7 separate regions of the Homo sapiens genome follow, and regions 1, 3, 4, 5, 6 and 7 are each linked to region 2. The links are contacts of gene promoters, found by promoter capture Hi-C in blood cells and fetal thymus (Javierre and others, 2016). All regions are on one chromosome and are shown on one strand. Each heading gives the region's core, a stretch centred on a gene start or on the middle of the fragment in contact. The rest is flanking DNA. Distances are from core to core; before and after follow the strand shown.

What was found. The method cuts DNA at HindIII sites, captures the fragments that hold promoters and counts their contacts. A CHiCAGO score of 5 or more calls a contact.
Region 1: the fragment with the promoter of RREB1 here is called in contact with the fragment with the promoter of SNRNP48 in region 2 in 1 of 17 cell types (total CD8 T cells); the score reaches 6.3 in total CD8 T cells.
Region 3: a fragment that was not itself captured here is called in contact with the fragment with the promoter of SNRNP48 in region 2 in 1 of 17 cell types (M2 macrophages); the score reaches 5.3 in M2 macrophages.
Region 4: a fragment that was not itself captured here is called in contact with the fragment with the promoter of SNRNP48 in region 2 in 2 of 17 cell types (total CD8 T cells and naive B cells); the score reaches 6.0 in total CD8 T cells.
Region 5: a contact is called between a fragment that was not itself captured here and the fragment with the promoter of SNRNP48 in region 2, in 15 of 17 cell types (total CD8 T cells, naive B cells, total B cells and 12 more). The highest score is 13.2, in total CD8 T cells.
Region 6: a contact is called between a fragment that was not itself captured here and the fragment with the promoter of SNRNP48 in region 2, in 2 of 17 cell types (M1 macrophages and M0 macrophages). The highest score is 7.1, in M1 macrophages.
Region 7: a fragment that was not itself captured here is called in contact with the fragment with the promoter of SNRNP48 in region 2 in 11 of 17 cell types (M0 macrophages, non-activated CD4 T cells, activated CD4 T cells and 8 more); the score reaches 8.2 in M0 macrophages.

What each region holds. Positions count from the first base shown.
Region 1 is chr6:7,105,951-7,109,654 of GRCh38, reverse strand. It overlaps RREB1 (ras responsive element binding protein 1), which reads right to left and starts at 1,694. Exons shown (of 13, transcript NM_001003699.4): 1 at 1,595-1,694. RefSeq lists silencers at 326-415, 436-925, 1,716-1,935, 1,996-2,475 and an enhancer at 2,826-2,885. The HindIII fragment of the contact is 7,744 bases long and covers 1-3,704 here.
Region 2 is chr6:7,588,144-7,591,893 of GRCh38, reverse strand. SNRNP48 (small nuclear ribonucleoprotein U11/U12 subunit 48) reads right to left here and starts at 1,696. Exons shown (of 9, transcript NM_152551.4): 1 at 1,481-1,696. The coding sequence starts at 1,636. RefSeq lists enhancers at 1,472-1,621, 1,200-1,939. The HindIII fragment of the contact is 5,411 bases long and covers 1-2,928 here.
Region 3 is chr6:8,010,445-8,013,657 of GRCh38, reverse strand. All of the region lies in intron 4 of BLOC1S5-TXNDC5 (BLOC1S5-TXNDC5 readthrough (NMD candidate)), which reads left to right. BLOC1S5 (biogenesis of lysosomal organelles complex 1 subunit 5) reads left to right here. Exons shown (of 5, transcript NM_201280.3): 5 at 1-91. It overlaps EEF1E1-BLOC1S5 (EEF1E1-BLOC1S5 readthrough (NMD candidate)), which reads left to right. Exons shown (of 7, transcript NR_037618.1): 7 at 1-91. Among named protein-coding and RNA genes, the nearest start is that of BLOC1S5, 52 kb to the left of the region's middle. RefSeq lists a silencer at 1,399-1,607. The HindIII fragment of the contact is 3,640 bases long and covers 1-3,213 here.
Region 4 is chr6:7,243,874-7,247,293 of GRCh38, reverse strand. RREB1 (ras responsive element binding protein 1) reads right to left here. Exons shown (of 13, transcript NM_001003699.4): 12 at 73-870. Among named protein-coding and RNA genes, the nearest start is that of SSR1, 68 kb to the left of the region's middle. The HindIII fragment of the contact is 213 bases long and covers 1,250-1,462 here.
Region 5 is chr6:7,277,994-7,281,682 of GRCh38, reverse strand. It overlaps SSR1 (signal sequence receptor subunit 1), which reads left to right. Exons shown (of 8, transcript NM_003144.5): 8 at 1-540. Among named protein-coding and RNA genes, the nearest start is that of SSR1, 33 kb to the left of the region's middle. The HindIII fragment of the contact is 1,926 bases long and covers 1,477-3,402 here.
Region 6 is chr6:7,329,626-7,333,251 of GRCh38, reverse strand. CAGE1 (cancer antigen 1) reads left to right here. Exons shown (of 14, transcript NM_001170692.2): 13 at 3,364-3,403. Among named protein-coding and RNA genes, the nearest start is that of SSR1, 18 kb to the right of the region's middle. The HindIII fragment of the contact is 1,260 bases long and covers 1,345-2,604 here.
Region 7 is chr6:7,260,762-7,264,356 of GRCh38, reverse strand. No RefSeq gene overlaps it. Among named protein-coding and RNA genes, the nearest start is that of SSR1, 51 kb to the left of the region's middle. RefSeq lists silencers at 1,823-1,998, 3,122-3,251 and enhancers at 1,696-2,487, 2,592-2,731, 2,802-2,921, 2,488-3,279. The HindIII fragment of the contact is 4,464 bases long and covers 1-3,595 here.

The DNA of each region.
Region 1 (3,704 bases), core at 445-2,944, 480 kb after region 2:
AGAAATACTTTCCTCCTCTTTTATAACCCATCACGGATGCACGGCGGCCGAGGGGCGCGAGCTGCACGCGGCGCCTGTCAAGCGGCCCGGGCCCGCACCCCGTGGGGTCCCCGCGTCCCCCAGCTCCCCGCCCCGCCCGGAGAGAAAGGTGGCCTCGCCCATCGGTGGGCTCGGCCGACGCGCCCCGCACTCACGCGCGGCCGCGGAGCAGGTCACATCCTCGACGCGCCCTTGGCCCGGTCCAGAAAACACGCCGCTTCCCAGGGAGGGGGTCGGCGACGGGAAGGACCTCCCCTGCTCCTTAGCAACCATTAAGGTCGCAGTTTCCTAAGAGACCGCGAGCGGGGAGGGGGCGCGGGGGGCCCGGCCCAAGGCTTGTGCGGGAAGTTGGGGGCGGGGGGGGCAGCAACAGGCCCCCTCCCCCCACCCAGCTAGACGCCGGGGGCCGGGATGGGAGGAGGAAGGGAAGCCCCAGAACTCGTGAAAAACTGGTCCAGCGGGCGGCGGACAAAAGTTTCCGAGCGCGCTCCACAGCTGGGCGGCGGAGCGGGCCCCGGCGGCCGGCCCCGCCTCGGATGCTCCCGGCCTCCTTCCTGTGCTCGTGACGGCGCCGAGCCCCCCACCCCCCCCGCCCGCGAGGCAGGCTAGCTCCACACCGAGGGCTCCCACGAAAACACTCACCCCGCCAACGGAAGGGCGAGGGAACAATACGTGCCCGCACGGCTAGGGCCCGGTCCCCTCCTCCCCAGGCCCCCCGGGGCGGTGGTCGGCGTGACCACGACCGCCAGCCGGGAACCCGCGAGGGCGCGGGGCTGCCCGCGGCCCCCTCCCGGCCGGCGCCGTCCGCCCGGGAGGTTCAAAGTCCGCAGAGCAGGGCGCGGCGGATGCTCCCACCGAGCAGCCCCGAGCAGGCACCCCCGCGCGAGCACCCCGGGCAGGCACCCCCGGATACCTTAGGGCGGCGGCGGGAGGGCGGGCGCCGTCATCTCCGCGCTTCCCGGCCCGAGAAGGACTCGAAAGTATGTAGGAGAAAAGTTTCCCCTCCCACATGGGGGGGAGGATGTCGAGGGAGAGAGGGCGGAAGATGGAGAGCAGCGCTGGGAAGATGTTTCTGGCCGGCGGTGCGCGCACCATCCGAGTCCCGGCGGTGCTGGTTAAAAATAAACTCGGCGGCGCGGGTCGGGCCGGATTCCTGCGCTCGGACGGCTAATATGGATGCGCATCAGGTCCTGCTGGCGGGGCGCTGCGGCGGCTCGCGCTGGGAGCTGGTTGGCAGAGCCGGCGGCTCGGGAAAGGGAAAAGAGCGGAGGAAGGGGAGGAGGAGGAGGAGGAGGAGGAATGGCCCGGCGCGCAGCCCGAGGGGAGAGGGCTGCCCCGCTCATCCCTGGCCGCCCCGCCGGCCCGAGCGCACGCTGCGCGGAGTGGGGCGTGCGGGTCCCCGGCTCCGGGACACACCGAGTTTCAAAAGTACAACGCGCTCTGCAGACTTCACCCTCCCCATCCCCAAAGTTCTTTAAAAGGTCGCTCCGGCTGTGCCCCAGACTTCTCGCTGCCGCCGGCGTACCGCGAGTCGGAATCCGGGGCACGTACTTACGGCCGGGCAGGACGCTTGGCTCCCTGGCATGATGCGTTGGGGACCGGTGGGCTTCAGGGAGAGACCGAGGAGAGATGCAAACTTGTTCCGGAAAAGGAATCAAAATGGCGTTTCTGGATGTGCAAAGTTCATCAACTCCGCAGTCACTTCCCCTCCTCCTCTTCTCCCACAGGGAGGGAGGTGGGCGAGGAGCTGGCGACCCCGGCGCCCCAGCCGTCGTCCCGGCCCCCGTCTCGGCCCCCCGCCCAGCTTCCTCGCCCGCACGCTCGGAGTCTCGCTCTCCCCCTCTCACCCTGATAAGTAGACACATCACGTGTTGCTCCTGCGAGTCTCCTGGGGACGTGTTACTGAGCGGCCGCGGCGGCGGCGGCGGCGGCGGCGGCGGCGCTCGGACTGGGGGGGGTGAGGGGGAGGACCGCCGCCCCCGCCCCGACTTTAGCAGGGTGACCGCAGTTGCCATCCCGGGATGGATGGAGGTGGAGTCCCCTCCCCACCCCCCACCGCAGCCCCAGGTTTGCCCTACGCCCTCCCAAGGCGCCCCGGGCCATGGGAGGGCCGGGCTGCCCGAGGGGAAGGGTCCGGGAGGCCGCGACTGGCTGCGATCCCAATCGTCCCGTTGCTCGCGGGCCACCTTATTCGGCCACCGCGCCCCCTCCCCTGCAGCCCCTCGCCGCGGGCGACTCCCCGCCCCCGGCTTTCCATCACTTCACTCCGCAGTTTCACTATTTTAACGGAGGCGGGGGAGACACGGTGATGCCTCGGAATTGCGAGAGGGGCACCTCAGAGGCGCTGGAGTTGGGGGGATGGGGGGCGTAGGGCTCGGGGCCCTGGCCTGACGCCGCCCCTCTGGGTCTCCGAGGCATCTGCGAGGGGGAGCCCCGCCCGCGCCGTTTCCTTTCCACGCGGTCCTCGCTCTGCATCCAGGTGGGGCGAGTGGATGATGGGGCAGGAGATTAAGGAGCAGGCGCTTCACCCCGCCCCTAGCTTCGAGCCGTTTCTCTCCCGGGGCCATCCTTCTTACTCGGGCTGCCGCCCTGAGTGTGCTCGCCGTCTAACAAACTCAACTCCGACCCGACTTTGGTCCCCCTCCCTTACCCACACCCCACAAAGGATGCTTCAGCGGGGAACTGCCGTGGCCGCCAGGGGCTGAGGACGGTTCCTGCCGCCACTGTGTCCCCACCCCGCGATGGAATGGCTGATGCTGTGTCATCCACGTCGCCCTCCAAGGCTTCAGAGAAGCCACACGCAGTATCTCTTTCTCTCAGAGGGCTCCTGTTTCAACTCTGAAAAGCAGGGGCCCTTCTCCGAGCCGCTCTCCATCTCTCCAGCTCCTGCCACCACGCTTCGCACTGGCTGCCTTGCCCCAAGTTATCACGGAGCCCAGAGAAACCAGGCCTGGGCTGTGCTTCCTCCATAAAGCAGCTGACATGTTTCCAACTGTTAATACTTCTCCTACCGAGGTTCTGAAAGGGGTCTGTTCTCAGCCTTTGGAAACATCTTCAGAAAGATAAGGATGATTGTGGTTGTTGAAAATAAACACGCCCCCCCCCCCCCGCCCCCGTAGTTCTAAAGAAGAATGTCCAAAGAATACTACAGTAGAATTAAGCGTTTGAGTCTGGTTAGGCAAGATGATGTTATGCAGGCAGAAAGCTGGCTACTTTCTATTTACTATGACCTTTGACCCTGGCTCCACCACACCAGCTCCTCTGAGAAGGCTTGAACACCATGGAGAGTTGTAAGCCCAACTGTGGGCCTTTAATTTGAGCCCTTCCATTGACCTCTAGTTTTCAGGGCTGCAGACAGAAGTGTCTGTCTCGGGATGGGTCCTGGCCAGAATAGAACTCTTTAGAACCAAGGAAAAGCAGCTGGACCCTTAGGTCTGATATGAGATAAGTAGGCTAAACCACTGCCCAAGAAGGAGCTGATTCAGCTGGCTGTTTCTCTGACTTTCAGTCATCAAAATTAAGTTTTCGGAACCTGTTATGTTTCCCAGGGTCTACTGTTTACTGAAGAAAACTCCATCCAGAGAAATTTTAGCGGTTGCATTTTTCTGAGCCTCCCCCAACCCCGCCGCCCCCAAATGTATTATCAAATGCTTTTTTGAAGACAG
Region 2 (3,750 bases), core at 447-2,946:
GGAACAGATGACAACTAGGACTGTTGTTCACTAAATTTCAGTACTAAAACACCGGCGGAAATCCTAACTGCCATTTACTAGCAGTGTATCCTTCGACAAATTATCACTTCTGTGTTCCTTTCCTCGTCTATAAAATGTGGCCAAAGATACCTACCTCATAGGGTTATTTTGAGTATTAAATGAAGTAATGTAAGTGGCAAACAAAGTGCTATTTAAACGTTAATACAAGGAATCCAATGTTACCGCAATGCTGAGTAAACAATGTATGGAAGGGTCTGGTAAGCCCCACTCAGTGGAATTCCCAGCTTCAAATACCCCTCTAAATGAATATTAAAGATTTTTTAATTTCCTCTGTGCTTTTAATACAATAAACAATGAATGGTATATACAGAAATCAAATATATTTTAAATGCCTCTGAGGAATCAGTCATGTAACTTAAACCCAGGAGAAATTATCACAGCATGGTAAACCCAGAAGTAATAGTAAAGATAATGAATTACCCCACATTGGAGCACTTCCCTTCCTCTCATTCCACCGAAAATACCCCACAAAAAAACAAAAATCACGAATGTTCACTCTAAATACACTTGCCTACATTTTTAAAAAAGCAATTCTAATGTCCACAGGAGTTGCCAGTTACCACCTCTTGGTGACAACCTTTAATAATCCTAGAATTGGTGCTGTCCCAGTCAGAAGTGTCCAATTTTAAGGCACAGAAAGGCGAACTGGCAAACTCCCAGCTCTCCTGACACCGAATCTGGTGCAACTGCGGAATCCGTATGACAGATGACAATGCAAACCGCCAATCCCTCTGCAGCGCTCTGAGACACGTTCACTTATTTTCTAAATAAATACCAAATCTGCCATTCCCTCCTCACTCAACACACCTTCCTGGATTTTGTTTGTTTGTTTTTTGAGACAGGGTCTTGCTCTGTCGCCCAGGCTGGAATGCAGTGGAGCGATCTCGGCTCACTGCAGCCTCGACCTCCTGGGCTCAAGCTATCCTTCCACCCCAGCCTCCCAAATAGCTGGGGCCACAGGCTCACACCACCACACCCGGCTAATTTTTGTACTTTTGGTAGAGAAGAGGTTTCACCATGTTGCCCAGGCTAGTCTGGAACTCCTGGGCTCAAGGGATCCTCCCGCCTTGGCCTCTCAAAGTGCTAGGATTACAGGCGTGCGCCACCGCGCCCGGCCCCCGGTTTTCTTTAAACTCGAAGTTGCGCGGGAGGAGCGCCGCACTGGAGGTCGATGTGGAGCCTTCGGGAGTTCCTCGCGCGCCCCAGCCCGGAACCCAGGGACGTCAGGGTTGCTCCAGGGCCCCCGGCGCCCCTCGGGTCCCAGGCGCCCATCGCGGCTCTGCACACGGACGAGGACTCCTCGCCCTTCCCTCCGCGGCTGCCAGTGCGGATCTCCCTTCTTCCAGAGAAGACCCCGGGCCGATAGTCCCCGAAAGGGCCCCGCGGCCGCGCTCCTCACCTCCGCCGCCTCCTCTTCCCCGGGATCCAGACTATCTAGGTCCCAGCCCAGGGACGCGGTCACCTCCTCCAACGTCCGGCAGCCGCTCTCCACGAACTCGTTCAGCTCCTCCTGCAGCCGCCGCCGCTCCTCCACAGGTGGAGGCTCGCCCTCCATAGCTGCAGCCCACCCGCCAAGAGGAAGCGGCCGAACTGCAGACCGCACGCGCAGGCCTCTGGGAGCTGTGGGCGGGGCCACAGTCGCCACGTGACTTGAACAGCCTATAGGGAAGAGTCCCGGGAAGGGCGGGACTGTTATTTTGAGAGGCGTTTTCCAATCTTTTCTCAGCTCTTGCGTGCATTTGCTCTGGCCTTTCCAGAAAGATATTCGCCCTCCTCGACTTCCTCAGAAAAAACGGCTTATAGCTACAGAAAAGTTTTAAAAATAGTACAATGAGCTTTCGTTTAGCCGTCCTTCAGCTCATTGTTAACATTTTGCCAGGTTTGATTTCTCTCCGTCTCTTCTCTCCACATTCACAGCCCCACCCAATGATTTTTGCTGAATTCTTTGAAAGTAAGTTGCAGATTTTTCACCCCCAAATATGTTAGCATGCATGTTCTAAGAATAAGAACATTTTCCTGTGTAACCGCAATACATGATCAAACCTAAGAAAATTAGTAAGTCCATAAAATCATTTATTATACAGTTCATATTCAAATTTCCCCATTGTCCCCAAAATTATTTCTATAGCAGTTTTATTTTTTCAACTCATAAGCTATAATTAGTTATTGTCTCTTTTAATCCAGATCAGCCTCCTTCACCCTCCTTTTTAAATTATTAAATCATTACATGTTGTGATGAGCCTAGGCCAGTTGTCTTGTAGAATCTCTCTCATTCTGGATTTGTCAGATTTTGTTTCCCTCATGATTAGATTCAGTTTGAGCACTTTTGCAATACTACCTAAGAGATGTTGCCAACTCACGGGGACGCATAACTCAGTTATATTAGTAATGCTAAATTTGATCACTTGGTAAAGGTGGTGGCTACATCTCTTCATTCTAATAGTACATTTTCCTCTTAGGAATTGGTAAGCAATCTGTGGATTATACCTTGAGTCCATAAGAATAACCTGTTCCCCAACTCCTTGATACAGTCCTTCACTGAATCTGTTGTTACATTAGGAGTTATAAGTGATTCCGCAATAGTATCATGCCTTTTATGTTTATTAACTGGCATTCTTTCCACACCTCCATTTTAGTGTTTGCTTCACTATGGGAATCAAGGTGTTTTTAAAGTTATTGATTTAAGGTTTTTTTTTAATTCAATATAATATACTCCTTTAACATCATAATTCTTGTTGATGCTCAAATTGTCCCAAATGTGGCCAGTGGAAGCCACATTAAGCCATCTGTGTCTTTCATGTATCCCTATTAGTCCTTGAATGCTTTCTTGCTTTGATAACACAAGCTTAACTTTGTACATTTCCTACCCAACACCTGGAATTAGCCCTTGTAGTTTCCCCAAATGGTTTCAACTCCTAGAATCTAACCCATTTTATATTACTTTTTAAAATTTTTTCAAGCCCAAGTGTCAAACCTTGGTTTCCTTTTGCACTTTGTTTACCCATGTGAAGGAACTGTGGGGGAATTTTTTGGTGAACAATTATTTCTAAAGGCAAATAGCACGGTTCTCACTTAAAAAAATAGTCATAAGACTATAAATAGGCAGCACCATAAAATACAGAAGTGGCTAGAAGCTGGTAAGAGAGGAGTATGAAGTTAATGTATTCATACTCTGCCTACAGTATCTTTTTTTTTTTTTTTTTGAGACGGAGTCTGGCTCTGCCACCCAGGCTGGAGTGCAGTGGCGCAATCTCAGCTCACTGCAACCTCCATCTCCCGGGTTCAAGCAATTCTTCTGCCACAGCCTCCCGAGTAGCTGGGACTACAGGCACATGCCACCACACCCTGCTAATTTTTCTATTTTTAATAGAGATGGGGTTTCACCATATTGGCCAGGCTGGTCTCGAACTCCTGACCTTGTGATCTGCTCGCCTCAGCCTCCCAAAGTGCTGGGATTACAGACGTGAGCCACCGCGCCCAGCCCGGTATCCTTACTTTTTATTTGCATTTCCATAGTTAGCTGGTTGGTCTGGAAAAATGTGAGACTATTTCTGATGTGACATGACTCCTGATAAAAAGTTCTAGTGTATATTTCCCTGTTTGTATATGTGAACCAAATTAAAACTTAGCCCACGTCAAACATATCCTCTCTTCAGGATACAGCCCCAT
Region 3 (3,213 bases), core at 195-2,694, 420 kb before region 2:
ATATATTCTTAACTGTGGCTACCCAACTTGTATAGCAAAGATTTCTGATAGTTTGTGTTCATCTCATGTGAATAATAAATACTTTACCCTATAAGTTTGTTTATTATTCCATAAATACCTAAGGGACTTCCTAAACCAAAATGAATTGATGGGCTTTTTGAGCTTTAGACATTAAGATACTCAATTGTTTCTTGTAACATTTTTAACTATTCAACATAGCTTCTATAAGAGTTGGTTTATTTACCTTCCTTTTGATATTCGACATAGCTTCTATAAGAGTTGGTTTATTTACCTTCCTTTTGATATTTTTAGTGGTGAACGCTTTTGCTTCTGTTTCCTAGTTGCCAAATCACTTTTTATATATATTTTATTTATATGTAAAAAACAATTTTAATAACTACATAATTTGTAACATTTCTTTCCTTTTTTTTTTTTTTTTTTGCGCGACAGAGTCTCACTGTGTCACCCAGGCTGGAGTGCAGTGGCGCGATCTCGGCTCACTGCAAACTTTGCCTCCTGGGTTCAAGCAATTCTTGTTCCTCAGCCTCCTGAGTAGCTGATATTACAGGCATGTACAACCATGCCCAGCTAATTTTTATATTTTTAGTAGAGAAGGGGTTTCACCATGTTGGCCAGGCTGGTCTCGAACTCTTGACCTCAAGTGATCTGCCCACTTCAGCCTCCCAAAGTGCTGGGATTACAGGCATGAGCCACTGTGCCTAGCCAGTTTGTAACATTTCTGCTGTGTTTGTGCTGTTGAGCAGAGATATTGTGGGTTCTATGTAGCTCATAGGATTATTGCAATGATCAAATGAAATAATGTTTTATAATTTTAAAGCACCATAGAAAGATTTGTTAAGTTCTATGTATTTTTAATTTTTAATTATGATTTCTTTCTCGACTAACATATGTATGAGGCTTTTTTTTCCCATTTCCTAGCGTGTATATTTTTAAATTCTGTGTTTATTGATTCCTGTTTTAATTGAATTTGAATTGTGGACAGAAAATAGGTACATGTTAAGACTGATCTGTTAATATTTGTTGAGATTTGCTTTATGACCTAGATTATAACCTGTTTTTGTAAATGTTTCATGATTGCTTGAAAAGTATGCTTGTTTTTTAGTTGTTGGATGTCCATTAGACCAAAGTTGTTAATTTTGTAGTTCAAATTTTTTCCATTTTACTATTCTTTTGTCTTCTACTTGATCTCTCAGACTCTGAGATGTGTTGAAATTTTCTATTCTAGTGAACTTACCAATTTCTCCCTGTAATTCTGTCAATTTTAGTTTTATATATTTTTATATATTTTGAAGTCTTGTTATAAATAAATAATTATAAATATATACATAAATATAAAAATACATAAACTATATATTATATTTATATGGATTATGCCAGCTAGCTGGATTTATAGGATATATCTTTTTTCATCCTTCTGTTAAACCTTGCTGTTATGTTTTAGATATGCCCTTTAAAAACTGTGTGACTGGGGCCGGGGACGGTGGCTCACGCCTGTAATCCCAGCACTTTGGGAGGGCGAGGCGGGCAGATCACGAGGTCAGGAGATTGAGACCATCCTGGCCAACATGGTGAAATCCCATCTCTACTAAAAATACAAAAATTAGCTGGGCGTGGTGGTGTGCACCTGTAGTCCCAGCTACTCAGGAGGCTGAGGCAGGAGAATTGCTTGAGCCCAGGAGGCAGAGGTTGCAGTGAGCCGAGATTGCGCCACTGCACTCCAGCCTTGGTTACAGAGCGAGACTCTGTCTTAAAAAAAAAAAAAACTGTGTGGCTGGATGTTTTTCTTTCTTTCTGATCATTTGTCAACTAAGGAGTTCAATCCATTTACATTTGTCAAAGTTACTGATATATTAAGATTTATTTGTATCATCTTATTTTGTGCTTTTTGTCCCACCTTTTCTGTTTCTTGACTTCTTTCAGCTTGAGTTTGTTTTGTTTCATTTTTCCATCTACTTTTCTTCTGCTGCTTTCAAAGTTAAACATTTCCCAGTTTCCAAATCAGTTTTGATATGTATTTTATTTATATGTAAAAATTAACTTTTAATGAAGTGCTTAGTAGGAAATTTAACTTGCGTAGTTAACAGAATCTAAAATTAACATCTTTACTCTCTTCCTATTCTTTAGAGATTTTTGTACAAAGTCTGATTTATCTCTTCAACTTACAAATTGTTGTCTAGAATTCTAGTTCTATCTCGATTTTACTACAAAAGTAGTTATTTTGTATAGTCAGTGTTTATGTAGATTTACCTAGAAGTTTGCTATTTTATTATCCTTGAAAGTTAGCTAGGTATACGATTATAGGTTGACAGCTGTTTTCTCAAATAATATTCTACTGTCTTCTTGCTTCCATTGCTGCTTCTGAAATGACAGTTGTCAGTCTGATCAGTATTTGTAGCTAATCTGCCTTCTTTCTCAGGTCATATTTAAGATCTTTATCTTTGGTGTTCTACAGTCAAATGTGGCCATGCTACAGTATGTTTAGCTGTATATTTCTTTTCATTGTCCTGTTGGGATTGATTGAGATTCCTGAATCTGAGAATTGGTACTTTTCATAAATTCTGAAAAATTCCCAGCTACTGTCTCTTTGAATATTGTATCTCCCTCATTCTCTCTATTCTCTCCTTTAGGAAATAAAATTAAGACTTCTGTTTTATGATCTCACTGTCCTCTCCATATCTCTTAATCCCTGTTTTATATTTCCCATCTCTCTGTCTCTAGGTGTTGAATTCTGGATAATTTCTTTAAATCTATTTCATTAATACTGTCTTCACTCTATCTCTAACCTATTTTACCCATCTGTTGTTAATTATAGTTATTATTTTTTTTATTTTCAAAAGAGTTGTTTGGTTCTTTCTTAAACTTTCCTGGGTTGTCTGGGATGGTTCCATTATTCCTTCTTTTTCTTTTCTTTAAACATATTAAAAGTACTTATTTTACATTCTGTACGTGGTAATTTCAGTATTTTTTGTGGATCCAGATTTATAGTTTGTTGCTTGTTTTTGCTGAAACAAGTTTATGGTGACGAGTTTCCTAATGTGATCAGTCATTTTTTATTTTAAGTTTGCATTCCTCTGAACTTTCTTTTGGGAGATTTTTTTTTTTAATTTCAAATATAGTCCTACAGAGAAGATTTTTTTTCCCTGCAGCACCAATTTGTTTATTGTGACACTACAAACCACAGACCACTTCAAA
Region 4 (3,420 bases), core at 107-2,606, 340 kb after region 2:
AGGGGAGCTCCTAGGAGAGGTGCCCGGCTCGCCTCCTCTTGTTGGGCCGGGGACCTGGCCTGCCCTGGTTACCTGTGTGGGAGCGCATGTGCCGGGTCAGGTCCTGCAGCGACCAGAACCGCTTGTTGCACACGCTGCAGACCTTCTTCCTCTTGTCTGCCTTGCTGGCCACGCTTTTGGGGGAGTCTGTCTTTGGTTTCTTGTCATCGTCGCTCTTCTCTGAGGACCTTTTCTCGGCCGCGCTCTCCCCGTCGGAGGGGCCCTCCGTCTCCTCCGCGAGCTTTTCCGCCGGGGCCTCCCCGGCACCCGGGGCCGACTCCACCACCTCTGCCGGGGTCTCGGGGGGCTTCTCCTCCTGTTCAGGGGCGGGCTGGGGCCCCTCCTCTGCAGTGCTGGCGCCATCTCCCTTCTCGTCCTTGGGCTCCTGGCGGCCGTGCGCCTTCCGGTGGCGGCTCAGGGTGCCCAGGAACTTGAAGCTCTTCCCACAGGTGTCGCAGGCGAGCTTCTGCTCCTGCGAGGCCGCGCCCCCGGCGCCTGCCTCGCCGTCGCCCTCCGCCAGCTTGAAGTCCATGAGCTTGGTGGCGAAGTCCAGGTCCAGGCTCTGGTTGCTCGACGCGTCCTCTTCCGCGCCGTCGGCGTCCCCAGTGCTCTCCTCAGTGCCATGCTCCTCCTCCGGCTCATGGCTCTCCCCACGCCCGTGCTCTTCCCGGTGCACCGGCGAGGCCGTTTCCGCCGTGGCCTGCTCCACAGGCGCATCCCCTGCGACCTGGCGGAGCTCAGTGGCGCCCTCCGACGGCTGCTCTCTGTCCCGTGAGGTGAGGTCTAGCACTTCGCCCGCGGCGGCTGCAGTCTCCGCATCCGACTGACTGTCTGTGGGGCAAGCACAGCGGGGAGGGCTCAGAGGGGCACCACCAGGTACGCCCATGCCAGGGATGTCGCCGGGAATGGGCTAGACCCACGCCAGCAGCCTGAACCCCAAACCAGTGAGGACTTCTTTCGGCCCAAATCCTCACCACCTGTTACATCCCCCAGGAGGACCAAGATGACCCTGGGGACGTGAAGAAAGGCAAAAGCAGCCTCCACATCACCTCAGGTGTGTTCCCAGGGCTGGCTGTGCCCCTGAACCCCTGGCTTCCACTGCCCCCGCCCCCAGGAAGGTGTGAGTGACTCAGGCAGGGCAGACAGGGGCTGCGAGATAGGAGAGGGGTGCATTCCAGAGACTCGCAGCGCTAGGGAAGTTGAGGAAGCTTGAGTTATAAGTTATTTTTCCAGTGCAAAGAGATCATACAAACATGCAACATACACAGGACCACCCCTACCCCTAATCCTCCAAAGCATGGTCTTGATGAGTTTCACAGGAAACGACCCCAAGCCTGCGTTGTGTGTGTATGGTATGCACACTCTTGCCTGACGCTCATCTCCAGGTGGAGGCTGCAGAGACCCAAGGGGGCGCAGGCAAGCTTGTAGGCTTCCTAGCTGTCAGCCTCCCAGGGGTGGTGGAATCTTTCAAAGGAAGGGCACCCTTGATGCCAGGCTTGGCAACAGCACACAGTGAGGGGAGCGGACTGTGAAGGGCTGTGGGTGCCTGTGAAGACAAGGGGTTCTGGGTTCCAGGCATCTCACCTACCCTGACTTCCTGCCTCTTGATTTGTTCCTATCTGTCCATTCCACCCAGTAAAACTGTATGTGGAAAGCCTATCAGTTTTCAACAGTCCTTTTAAGGGATGGCACGGCTGCAATATTCACATCAAACAGTGTCAAAAGGCCTTCTCTTTACTAAGGTTGAAAGAAGACTTAATAACTTCTTAAAATTATGCATTACGACAGTACATTGGAAGCTGGTGGGACCTATTATTTAGCTGCAGATCCTATGTCTGATTTAGTTTTTATTATTTTTTCAAGACGGAGTTTCGCCTTGTCGCCCAGGCTGGAGTGCAATGGTGTGATCTCCACTCACTGCAACCTCCACCTCCCGGGTTCAAGCAATTCTCCTGCCTCAGCCTCCCAAGAGCTGGGATTACAGGCGCCCACCACCACGCCCAGCTGATTTTTGTATTTTTAGTAGAGATGGGGTTTCATCATGTTCGCCAGGCTGGTCTCGAACTCCTGACCTCAGGCGATCTACCCACCTCAGCCTCCCAAAGTGCTGGGATTACAGGCGTGAGCCACCGTGCCCGGCCACTGTCTGATTTATTACTGCAGGGATTCAAGTTCCTCTGATAATTGGGTGGATGAAAGTCATTGTTTTATGGCACAAGTACGAGATGCCCCTCCCTCAATAGGCCAGATGTGATTGCAGTCCTTGAGCCAGCAGATTCACGCACCTAACCTGGATTCTCACTTGACGTGATCAGGTGTAACTACAATGTCAACCTGCATCCATCACACCTCCTCAATGTCACATGCTTGATGATTTGCCATCAAGGCGGTCAGGAGGGCTGGGGTAAGGAGCTGGTTCTGCCCCGTCCTGAGGTCTGAGGAGACAGTACCTACTGTTCACACCTGCTTGGGGCTTTAGGCTTTACCCACAGCCATCTGCATAACGCGGCTACTTACATCATTTCATTTCATTAGTTTTACACTGACTGCACTTTTTGGCAGCCACTGTTTGGGTATCTCAAGAGGTTTCAGAAAGAAATATTATGGTGTGAATATAACATTTTAAAGAAGAAATGATTTTGCAAAATTATCCAAAAGCTTAAAGAATATGAGTCCTGGGATATGCACACCAATGTCTGGGCCACATTCCAAGGAAAAACTAGATGTTCGTTTTTCTTGAATCATTTCAACAGAGAGCATCTATAGAATGGATATTGGTATAAACTCTACAATAAAAATACAGAACGCTCAATTTGTTTGCTGGCTTTGTGGGTAATTTCCCTCCCTAGAGTCAGGGTCTCCCTATGTTGCCCAGGCTGGTCTCGAACTCCTGGGCTCAAGGGGTCCTCCTGCCTTGGCCTCCCAAAGTGCTGAGGTTATAGGCATAAGCAACTGTGGCTGGCCTTTGTAAGTAATTTTTTTTTTTTTTTTTGAGATGGAGTCTTGCTCTGTCACCCGGGCTGGAGTGCAGTGGTGCAGTCTCAGCTCACCGTAACCTCTGCCTCCTGGGTTCAGGCGATTCTCCTGTCTCAGCCTCCCAAGTAGCTGGGATTACAGGTGTGAGCCACCATGCCCAGCTAATTTTTGTATTTTTAGTGGAGACAGGGTTTCACCATGTTGGCCAGGCTGGTCTCAGAACTCCTGACCTCAGGTGATCCACCTTCCTCGGCCTCTAAAAGGGCTAGGATTACAGGCATGCGCCACCACGCCCGACTGGTAATTTTTAAAAGAAGGTTTAATCTCTGGTTACTTCCCCTTTGTCCCCAGTATATCCTAGACTACACTTCTATTTTTTTTTTTTCAGCAAAGAACATGCATTAT
Region 5 (3,689 bases), core at 1,190-3,689, 310 kb after region 2:
CACAGGTATTTAATAAGTGACTTCCAGTTTTGGCTCTGCTATGAATAAAAAGAGATTTCAGTTCTCTTCACTTTGAAATCTAACAACTCAGAGAACATTGAAGAAATTGGAATTTAGTTGGGATGAAATACTTGTGGTTTAAAATATTTCTGTTCATATTTTCTAATTTGTTGCCGGAGGTCTTGGGTTTTCTATTTGAGTGCTTGCAAACTCAATGTGATTTCTGTCAGCATATCTTAGGTTTGTTTGTTATGAAACTTATGCAGTGTGAGGTTCTATCTGAAAATGTTATTTAGCTATCTTCTGGGACTATTTAATGAAAGTGGGGTCATGAATCCTTAAAATTCTTGTGCAGCTTTGAGAAACATTTCTGTTATTTGGGTATCAGTTTGTAAGTGTGGTAAAGCCAAGATGGAAACGAGCACTTTGCTTTCTTGGTTGTTGTTACTGGTCTAACCTCCTGCTTGAACTAGTCTGCTGTCCTGTCAAATGCATCTTTTTATTTACATGTCCCTTAAATTAAAGCTGATCATGAAAGTATTTGTGTGCAACATGAAATGTTTTCTAAAGTACCAGTGCATATTCCTGCTTGGTCTCAAGACGCACGAGGAATCCAAAATAGAAGCAAAAAAAGAAAAGAAAAAAAATCACAATTTTGATCGGAATGTCCTCCTGGAAATTATTTAAAAGTTTGGCCGGGCACGGTGGCTCACGCCTGTAATCCCAGCACTTTGGGAGGCTGAGGTGGATGGATCACAAGGTCAGGAGTTCAAGACTACCTTGACCAATATGGTGAAACCTCGTCTCTACTAAAAATACAAAAATTAGCTGGGCGTGGTGGCACGCGCCTGTAATCCCAGCTACTCATGAGGCTGAGGCAGGAGAATCACTTGAACCCGGGAGGCAGAGGTTGCAGTAAGCTGAGATCACGCCACTGCACTTCAGCCTGGGTGCTTCCGTCTCAAAAAAAAAAAAGTTCACACATTTTTAGACATTTCAGTGATGTTTTAGAATAAAGGTGATTTAAGATTGGTTTTACAGGCACTCTTGGGCTGTCAGCTAGTTGGCTTTTCAGATGATGATCATAAAGACACTCCCCCTCACGCAGGTATATGAGTAAGTAAGGTCTACCCCATCCACACTCCCATACTGACTTTCCATTCCCAATAATTGCACAGACTGCATACTCTGATCGCTTATTAAACATTTCTAAGGAAGCCGAGATGGATCTTTGATGTAATTTTCTCATCTGTATACCCAGCCAGTAAGTCAGTAGCACCTAAGATTTCTTTCCCTTCAAGATTGTATTCTAAGCAGTAGAATTAAAGTGTTCTTCATAGAAAAAGTAACTTTTAATTAGAGGCTGTGCAAACTCTGGAGAATCAGTCTTTGTTACCAGATAATAATGTTTTTAGCTTTTTCTGCTGAGAGGAAAAAATGCTTTGAAGAATAAAAAATACTAGAGCATAACAAGCTTGGGGAGTTAGGAAAAAATATATTAGGGCAGTAAGAACCAGCATTACGTCTTCTCTGCAATGCTTGAAACATTCAGTATTAAACTTTGGATTAATCCAAAGTCTGAAGAGAAATACACCAAAATGCTAAAGCCGTTTTTGGTTAGGATAGTGGACTTTTTTTTTCTTCTTCAGAATGTTTGTAATGAGCCTATATTTTATAATGGAAGCAATAAATGCAAATGTGAAATTTATCTGAGCCTCCTACAATGAGTATAATAAATCCAGTGGTTGTGGATAGCTTATTTGTGGCCCCAAAAGAAACGGAGCCACTTTTTAAAACTTGGATGCATTGTCACTACATAGTGAAAGAAAATCAAGATATTCTTTTTTTTTTTTTTTTAAACGGTGTCTCACTCTGTTGCGCAGCTGGAGTGCAATGGCGCAATCTTGGCTCACTGCAACCTCCGCCTCCCGGGTTCAAGCGATTATTCTGCCTCAGCTTCCTTAGTAGCTGGTATTACAGGAATGTGCCACCACGCCCAGCTAATTTTTGTATTTTTAATAGAGACGGGGTTTCACCATGTTGGTCAGGCTGGTTTTGAACTCCCAACCTCAGATGATCCACCTGCCTAGGCCTCCCAAAGTGCTGGGATTACAGGTGTGAGCCACCGCGCCCAGCCCAAGATAAGAGTCTTTTTTTGTTTTTGTTTTTTTGACACAGAGTCTTGCTCTGTCATCCAGGCTGGAGTGCAGTGGCGTGATCTCGGTTCACTGCAAGCTCCGCCTCCCGGGTTCACCCCATTCTCCTGTCTCAGCCTCCCGAGTAGCTGGGACTACAGGTGCCCGCCACCACACCCGCCTAATTTTTTGTATTTTTAGTAGAGACGGGGTTTCACCGTGTTAGCCAGGATGGTCTCGATCTCCTGACCTCGTGATCCACCCACCTTGGCCCCCCAAAGTGCTGGGATTACAGGCGTGAGCCACCGCACCCGGCCCCAAGATAGATTCTTAATAGAAAACCCTTGAAAGTATTTCTCCTTTTCAGGGACTCAGCCTTTCTCTTTGCTGTTTGTAAAAACATGAGCTCCTCTCTGCTGCCGAGTTGGTGCCAGGCCAGTGCTCAGTGCAGCCACTCCTGCCCCACCCCCTTGCCTCTCGGGCTTTATGCCCACAAGAGTCCAAGCCACTCTATCAGATCCTGACTCTTCTCTTCTGGAAACTCTCCTCTGGCTTCCACTGGCATCTAGGTGAGCACAAGTGCTCCACCACTGCCTGCAGGGCTCTCCAGTATCTCGCCCTCCCTGCCTTGCCCCTTCCTGTGCTGCCCTCCAGGCTTCCTGGCCAGCCACCTCCTCATCTTCTACCCTGCCAGGCTTGTCCAGGATCAGGGCCTTGGCAGTAATCCCCTCTGCCCAGGTCTCAGCCCCCATCTTCCCTGCTCTTAGTCTTCCTGAAAACTCCCCTCATGGAAGGCCCCACACACCCTGCTCTGTTCTCATTATCTTCACCACTATCAGAAGTTACCTTGGGCTGGCCGCAGTGGCTCACACCTGTAATCCCAGCACTTTGGGAGGCTGAGGTGGGCAGATCACTTGAGGTCAGGAGTTCGAGACCAACCTGGCCAACATGGTGAAACCCTGTGTCTACTAAAAATACAAAAATTAGCCAGGTGTGGCGCGCACCTGTAATCCCAGCTACTTGGAAAGCTGAGGCAGGAGAATCACTTGAACCCGGGAGGCAGAGGTTGCAGTGAGCCGAGATCATGCCACTGCACTGCAGCCTGGGCGACAGAGCAAGTCTCTCTGTCTCTCAGCCTGGGCGACAGAGCGAGACAGACTCTCTCTCTCTCTCTCTCTCTCTCTCTCACACACACACACACACACACACACACACACAGAAGTTACCTTGTCCTTCCATTGCCCATCACCCCTTGTGAATGTAAGCTTATGACAGCAAGAATTTTGTCACCAGCTCACCAAGTCTTAAAACAGGACCTGACACACGTGGTAGGTGTTTCATGTGAATTATTTATCACACTGTGAAGTAGGTGTATCTCCATTTTGCAAATAAGGAAATTGAACACAGGTTAAATTAACTTGCCAGAAATTCCACAACCGTTAAGTGGCAGAGCTGGACACAGGTTTGTGTGTCCTGTTCACAAATGCGTGCATCTCTGGCTGGGAACTTGCAGGGTTATGGATCAGACTGCTCCACCTTGAGAAGTGGAAATGG
Region 6 (3,626 bases), core at 725-3,224, 260 kb after region 2:
AGGCAGGGCACGGTGGCTCATGCCTGTAATCCTAGCACTTTGGGAGACTGAGGCGGGTGAATCACTTGAGGTCAAGAGTTCAAGACTAGCCTGGCCAACATGGTGAAACCCTGTCTCTACTAAAAATACAAAAATTAGCCAGGCATGGTGGTGGGCACCTGTAATCCCAGCTACTCAGGAGGCTGAGGCAGGAGAATCGCTTGAACCCGGGAGGCAGAGGTTGCAGTGAGCTGAGATCGTGCCACTGCACTACAGCCTGGGCAACAGGGCAAAAACTCCATCTCAAGAAAAGAAAAGAAAAAAAAAAGAACACAGCAGTATGTTAAAATGAGACTCTTTCTAGCCCAGTTCCTTAGGTGCTAATAACACTGTTACCAGTTCCCAAAGTGAGAGTGAGTTTTTCCCATGTGCAGAGTTTCCGAAATAAATGATTTCAGAGAACCCCTTCCATGACTCCTATCTCTTGGCCAGATCCAAGATATAAAAGTATGGAGAGTAGGGAAGATTGGAGAAGGATTTCTTCGAATCTGTCGTGTCATGAGTTCCTGTCTCCCAGGTAATTCTACCTCTTTTACCTAAAGCCTTATGAGGAGTTTCCAGGGAATCACCTAAAGAGCTTTGAAACGTGTTCCCTAAAAGTTGGGAAACACAGAGGACTGGTGATTCATTCATGCCTAAGAAAACTAAGGCAAGCTGTGGCTGCTCAGCAGAGGGGCTGTGTTGGATAGCTTTTCTCTCTGAGCTTGTTGAGACAAAGAATGGGTGTGAAAATCCCTTAAGAACCATGCAGTTGAGAGTTGAGTTATCTTCAGCTCTGCCCAAGGAGGCCTGGAAGCAGCAAGAAACTAGAAGAGAATGCCAGATTCTTCGGGGCTGATAGAGTATCGAGTGATCACCCAGAGGAGAAATGCCTCCGCGTAGGTCCTGGGAACTGCAGGACAGAGATCCCCAGCAACGGCAAGCTCCAAAGAGAAAGAATCAGCATTAGCCAATTGCCAAGCTGAGACTCTGAAGCCACCCAGCCAAGTATGAGCTGTCCTGTGGCCTTTGCTCTCCTCCTACAAATGGAGAGGGAAATGAGCAAAAAGGGGAAACTGGCCTCCAAAGACAGTGGTGTCCATCAGCTACAGACCTGAACTGATAGATGGGGAGGAGAAGCCCTGCTTTTGAGTGAAGATTAAAGGATTGATTAATATTAAGACAGTACAGTATACCTAATGAATTGAGACTGTTTATGCCTCACAGTGAAGACTGTTACTTTAGAGTAAGCAAAAGAAGCATTGGCCCTGCTGTGTATTCACCCAAGGAAGGGCAAAGGAAAAGCTTCTCTGAGTGCAAAAAGCTTAAAGTAGAAATGGAAGACCAAAATTAAAGTTGCATTTTGGTTTTGTCATAAGTCATGTTTGTTCAGCATACCATTTGCAAATACAACTGTTTTGAAAATCGGAGGCCCATTCCTTCAACCTCTGCTGCCACTGCTGCCACTGCCACTTCCCAGGAGGAGAGGAAGCGGGAGAGGAGCCCAAGTCTCCTGTCACCCAAGTCCTCCAGCTGCACCACCTCGAAGAGTTTAAGATGTTTGCCTATGCCAAGCTCGCCTGCACCCCCGCTCTGAAGTTCTATCTTAAACAGCGTAGAGTTGCATACAGACCTGGAGAGGGCTCTGTGGTATTTAATGGGGCCCAGAATGGTGTGTCTCAGCTAAACCAAAGAGTTTCAAACCAGGGCAATCAGCAGAGACATTGAGACTGGTGTGAAATGTAACGGTGCAGGCACTGCAACATTAGGAGTGGCTGGTTCTGCTGCTGGTATTGGAACAGTCTTTGGTAGCCTTATCATTGGTTATGCCAGAAACCCTGCACTAAAGTAGCAGCTGTTCTCATATGCTGTCCTGGGATTTGCCTTGTCCAGACTTACGGGTCTCTTTTGTTTGATGGTTGCTTTCTTGATTTTGTTTGCCATGTGATAAACCACTGCTTGACATGTTGGCAGTCATATTAATTACAGATGTAATTCTGTGTATCTTACCGTGACCCCAAAAACTATAGTGTTGGTGTCATGGAAATGTACGTTATTTCCAAGGTCATTTCATTAAAGATGTAAAAAAAGAAAGAGAGAAAGAAAATAGAAAACCCTTGGCAGATTTAAACTAGCATTTGCAAGTGATAGGTTAACTATGACTTTTTCCCCAAAATGAAAAAATGTGATCTGATCCTTGGCATACCACAGATGCTCAGTAAATGCTAATTTATACTGAAGATGGATCTTCTCTGAGTTGCTGAGAGAAACAATGGAATTTTTTTCCTAGGCTTATTTTAAAATAAGAAAATTTAAATATGAATTTACATGTGTTTCACCAGTTCAGACCTCTGTTTACTTATATTTGGCCTATTTTCACAATGGAGTCTAGGCCCATTTATATAGATTTAGACTGGCCTAGAAGCCAGGGGGTGAGATGGGCAGAAGAGCTCTCAAAGCCCTTTCCAGCCAAGAGGACATTTGTTAGAAAACTCCAGACCTACATCAGCTTTCAGCCACCACCCTCTGTGAAGCCTGTGATGACTGGCCCAATTGATCTCAGTATATTCGGCACTCAAACAAGCTTCAGCTTACTCTGCAGCCTCTCAAAATTATGGCATTGCTTTTGCCAGTTGTCTTCAGTAGTGGAAATAGTGGGAAATAAGGATACAAAAGCGAGTATCTGAATAGCCTCAGATGTTTTATTTTTGCCTCTAGTTCTTCATGACTTTCAAGGAAATTCATTAAGTTTTCAAGTCAGAATCGTATCCTAAGTAAATCTATGAGAATGTTAAATGTAGTGAGAGTGTGCCTCATCGTTATTTTATTTTATGTATTTTTTTATTTGAGATGAAGTCTCACTCTGCTACCCAGGCTGCAGTGCAATGGCGCGATCTTAGCTAACTGCAGCCTCCACCTCCCAGGCTCAAGCAATTCTCCGCCTCAGCCTTGTGAGTAGCTGGGTTTACAGGTGCGTGCCACCATGCCCAGGTAATCTTTGTATTTTTGGTAGAGACAGGGTTTCACCATGTTGGCAGGGCTGGTCTTGAACTCCTGACCTCAAGTGATCCACCCACCTGGGCCTCCCAAAGTGCTGGGATTACAGGTGTGAGCCACCGCAACCTGCCTCATTGTTTTTATTTAAATGCACTGAGAATGATTCACATGTTATATACCAAAAAGCTTGATCTTAATCTCTGAGGGTCTCATAGTTCTATCTTAAATGACGATTTCTCCTTGAAAGTGAGGGGAAAATATGCTAAATAATGGCAACTTGCTCACCATGTTCACTATTTCAGTCCCCCCTTCCTCCTTTTTACATTATTTTCTTTCTATTTCTTACAGATCAAAAAGCTTAGAAAATCATCCGAAGTCCATGACCATGGTAGGTCACCTTGATGATCATGATAAAGAATCTTACATTTCCATGTAATTTGACAATAACACAAGATTTAATAGGAGTTCCTGAAGTCACATTTCCATACTGTGCAACCTAGCCTTCCCCTCTGTCTTCAGATGAGGGCTCTTCCGTCTCCTGTCATAGCTGGTGCTATAATTGGAAACCCCTCCCTCTAATCTTGTAGGGCTCCTTCACACCATCCCCACTG
Region 7 (3,595 bases), core at 876-3,375, 330 kb after region 2:
TTCAACAACTCTGGGACACAAAGGGGACCCATGACTTTCACAGGCAAGCATTCCTGTGGTGGGCAGCAGGGTGGAGGAATATTGCGAGTTTACGGCCCACTCCCCCGGCTCAGGTGGGCAGCAATACCAAGACAGGCCAACAAGGGCATCGCCTCGTGGGGCCCCGCGCCCTGAAGTGCCCTTTTTGCCCAGATCCAGGACACCCCACGGCCTCTTAGAAAAGGAAACGTTTGGGCCAGGCAAGGTGGCTCACGCCTGTAATCCCAGCACTTTGGAAGGCCGAGGCTGGTGGATCACCTGAGGTCAGGAGTTCGAGACCAGCCTAGCTAACATGACGAAACTCCATCTCTACTAAAAATAACCAAAATTAGCCAGGCGTAGTGGCAGGCGCCTGTAATCCCAGCAACTTGGGAGGCTGAGGCAGGAGAATCACTTGAACCCAGGAGGCAGAGGTTGCAGTAAGCTGAGATTGTACCATTGCACTCCAGCCTGGGCAACAAGAACGACACTCCATCTCAAAAAAAAAAAAAAAAAAAAAAAAAAAGAAAGAAAAAGAAAAAAGAAAGGAAGAAAAAAAGAAAAGGAAACATTTGGCTGAGCGCGGTGGCTCACGCCTGTATTCCCAGGACTTTGGGAGGCTGAGGCAGGTGGATCACCTGAGGTCAGGAGTTGAGACCAGCCTGACCAACATGGAGAAACCCCATCTCTACTAAAAAGCTGGGCGTGGTGGTGCATGCCTGTAATCCCAGCTACTCGGGAGACTGAGGCAGGAGATCCCTTGAACCCGGGAGGCGGAGGTTGTGGTGAGCCGAGATGGCGCCACTGCACTCCAGCCTGGGCAACAAGAGTGAAACTCAGTCTCAAAAAAAAAAAAAAAAGGGAAGAAAAGAAAAGGAAACGTTTGTGCCTGCAGATGACAATTGTGCATATTATGTGGAAATATTTAGACAGGTCAATTTAGGGACACTATGAATCCTTCCCTCTATAATCAGATGTAAAATTAAGGCTATTCTTTTCCCAGCACTATAAAATGACTACGGTTGACATTGTTTGAGCCACCTCTTTTGAGAGTGTTGCATTGTCCCCACATGTCCCTGGGTATAGAAGACTGAGGGTCTATCTCAGTGTAGCCCTTAGGTTCTGAGGGAGGCTTGGGGGCTATCGCTTTAGGGGCTCGACTCATCTGCAGCTCTGTAGGCACTGTGTGTTCTGGGCAGTGGGCATTTTAAACCCATATGGGAGATGAAGATGACTGAGGCCCAGGGCTGCTGGATCGCACACAGAGAGTGAGGTGAGGGCTTGGACTGGGGCCGTTTGGCTCCAAATCCCATAAGCTGACCACACTATCGCACTCCCAGGGTACCCTTAGATCAGCCAGTCCCAGCCCTCCTTGCACATTAGAAAGCTCTCGGGAGCCAGGCCGGGCCCGTTGGCTCACGCCTGTAATCCCGGCACTTTGGAAGGCTGAGGCGGGTGGATCACTTGAGCTCAAGAGTTCAAGACCAGCCTGGCCAACATGGTGAAACCCCATCTCTACTAAAATTACAAAAAATTAGCTGGGTGTGGCGGCGGGTGCTTGTAATCTCAGCTACTCGGAAGGCTGAGGCAGGAGAATCGCTTGAACCCAGGAGGCGGAGGTTGCAGTGAGCTGAGATCATGCCATTGCACTCCAGCCCGGGCAACAGAACAAAAACTCCATTTCAAAAAAAAAGAGACATAGACTGAATAGCTAAAAGGTATTTGGTGCTGGGATAAGTTTTGGATGGTACACAAAAAAGAATAATTGCCTCCATCCTATCCTTCGGGATCTGAAAATCTAGCTGTGGAGACAGCTCAGCTTATTTTTAAAAAGGCAAATGTGCTCCAATGTATCGTAGGAACCAAGCGAGTGAACACCAGAGAGCTGGGGTAGTCACAGGGGGCCTCAAGGAGGTGGTGAGACTGAAGCAGCAGAACAGGATTTGGAAGAAGGATTTAGGATTTGGAGGGCTTTTTAGGGGAGGGCCAAAGAGAGGACAGGTGTGCCCAGGCATGCCCCGGGGGTGTGAGGGCAGCTGGATCCCAGGGTGTCTGAGAGTGGTCACCTGAGGGCATGCTCATTGGTGGGTGTGGCCATCACAGGACATGGCTACAAGGGGCGTGACTATCAAAAGCAGAGCCATTCAAGGTCGTGCCCATCTGTCGGCGAGGTCACCAGGGCCGTCTGTGGGCGTGGTCACCACAGGGCGTGGCTGCAAAGGGTGACAGATGGTGGTCATGGTCGGATGAGTTGGGAGGCAGAGGGTGGGCTTGGGCCTGTTTGGGAAGCAGAGCTTGGATGTCATTCTCCAAGCCTCAGAGGCCATTGGAGGTGTTGGGCAGGGAGGGTGCATGGACAAAGAGGTGCTTGAGGAACAGTGATCAGATATGTGCCAGCTTCAGCTGTCCTAGCGTCCCCATCCCTAGGTAGGCACTGGGAAGAAGAAAGGCGTCTGGAAGTCCCATCCAAATCCCCCCGCCGCCCCCACCTCGCCTCTCTGGCTTCACTGTGAAGCGGGTCAACTTTTTCCAAGGGCAGGAGAATGTGGTTCCCTGTTGCTTGAGGGGCTCTGCAGGCCGAAGGTAAGAAGTGCTTCTGCCCCTGCGGAAACCGGGTCAAGCTGGCCCGGCACCCTCATCCCTTTTCTACCTGAAGCAGAACTGCGGGTGGAGCCCGCACCGCAAACGCACGGCCTGTCTCTGGTGAAAAGAGCTGTCTTTGGGACCTTCCTCGCTGGGCTGTTCCAGCACTCAAGTCTCAGCGCTGCCATGTGACGCCCACGCCCCCTTCCCCTGTCGCGGGATCGACCCCTCTGGAGCTGCCGAGCGGCTGTCTCACCGCCATCTTCCCTTCTCTGGAAACATCCAAATCCCCACCCACTGCCCCAGGCCAGGCCAATCAGATGCGCTGGCCTGGAAATTCCACAGGCAGCAGGGAGAGCCCCAGAGTCCCCGGGCTGCGCTGCTGCAGAGGGCAGGGCCCGGACTCCGCGCTGCCGTCCTGTGTGTGGTTTTGCTTTGTTCCTTGTTTTTACCTTCTGTCAGCGCATCACCGGAGGCCTTTGGGTCGCCCCTCCTCCCTGGCCACTCCTCTCCCCCGGACCCAGCCCTCAGTCCCTCCCTGCCTCGCCCAGCCTGGCGCACTCAAGCACTTGCCCTGGTCGCTGTTCCTGGACACGCATGGACGCTAAAAGCCAGGCTTTCTCGCGCAGTCCGCATTTTATTTGCAAAGCGAAGCGGGTGCTGCATTGCGGTCATTCAGCCCTGCTGTCCCTTGGTCTCGGCAAGGGCTGCTCTGCCCTTCCACTGCTCTGGGTCCCAAACCAGCTCTGCCCACACCCTGCCCTTTGCCCATCGTCTCAGCCCAATGGCCTGTCTTCACCCTCACCTTCAGGGAACTGGGCTCCCTCTTTTTAGGCAACACTGTTCTCGCCCACTTCCTTTTCAAGCGTCTCACCCTCTGTCCTCTGACGCTTCTTCCCCAGCGTGTCTGTCTCTTTCCTAGGTCCCTAGGTCCTAGGTCTACCCCGGCCACCTTTCCTGATCTCATTCACTCCTACGGCTCCTCCCACAATAA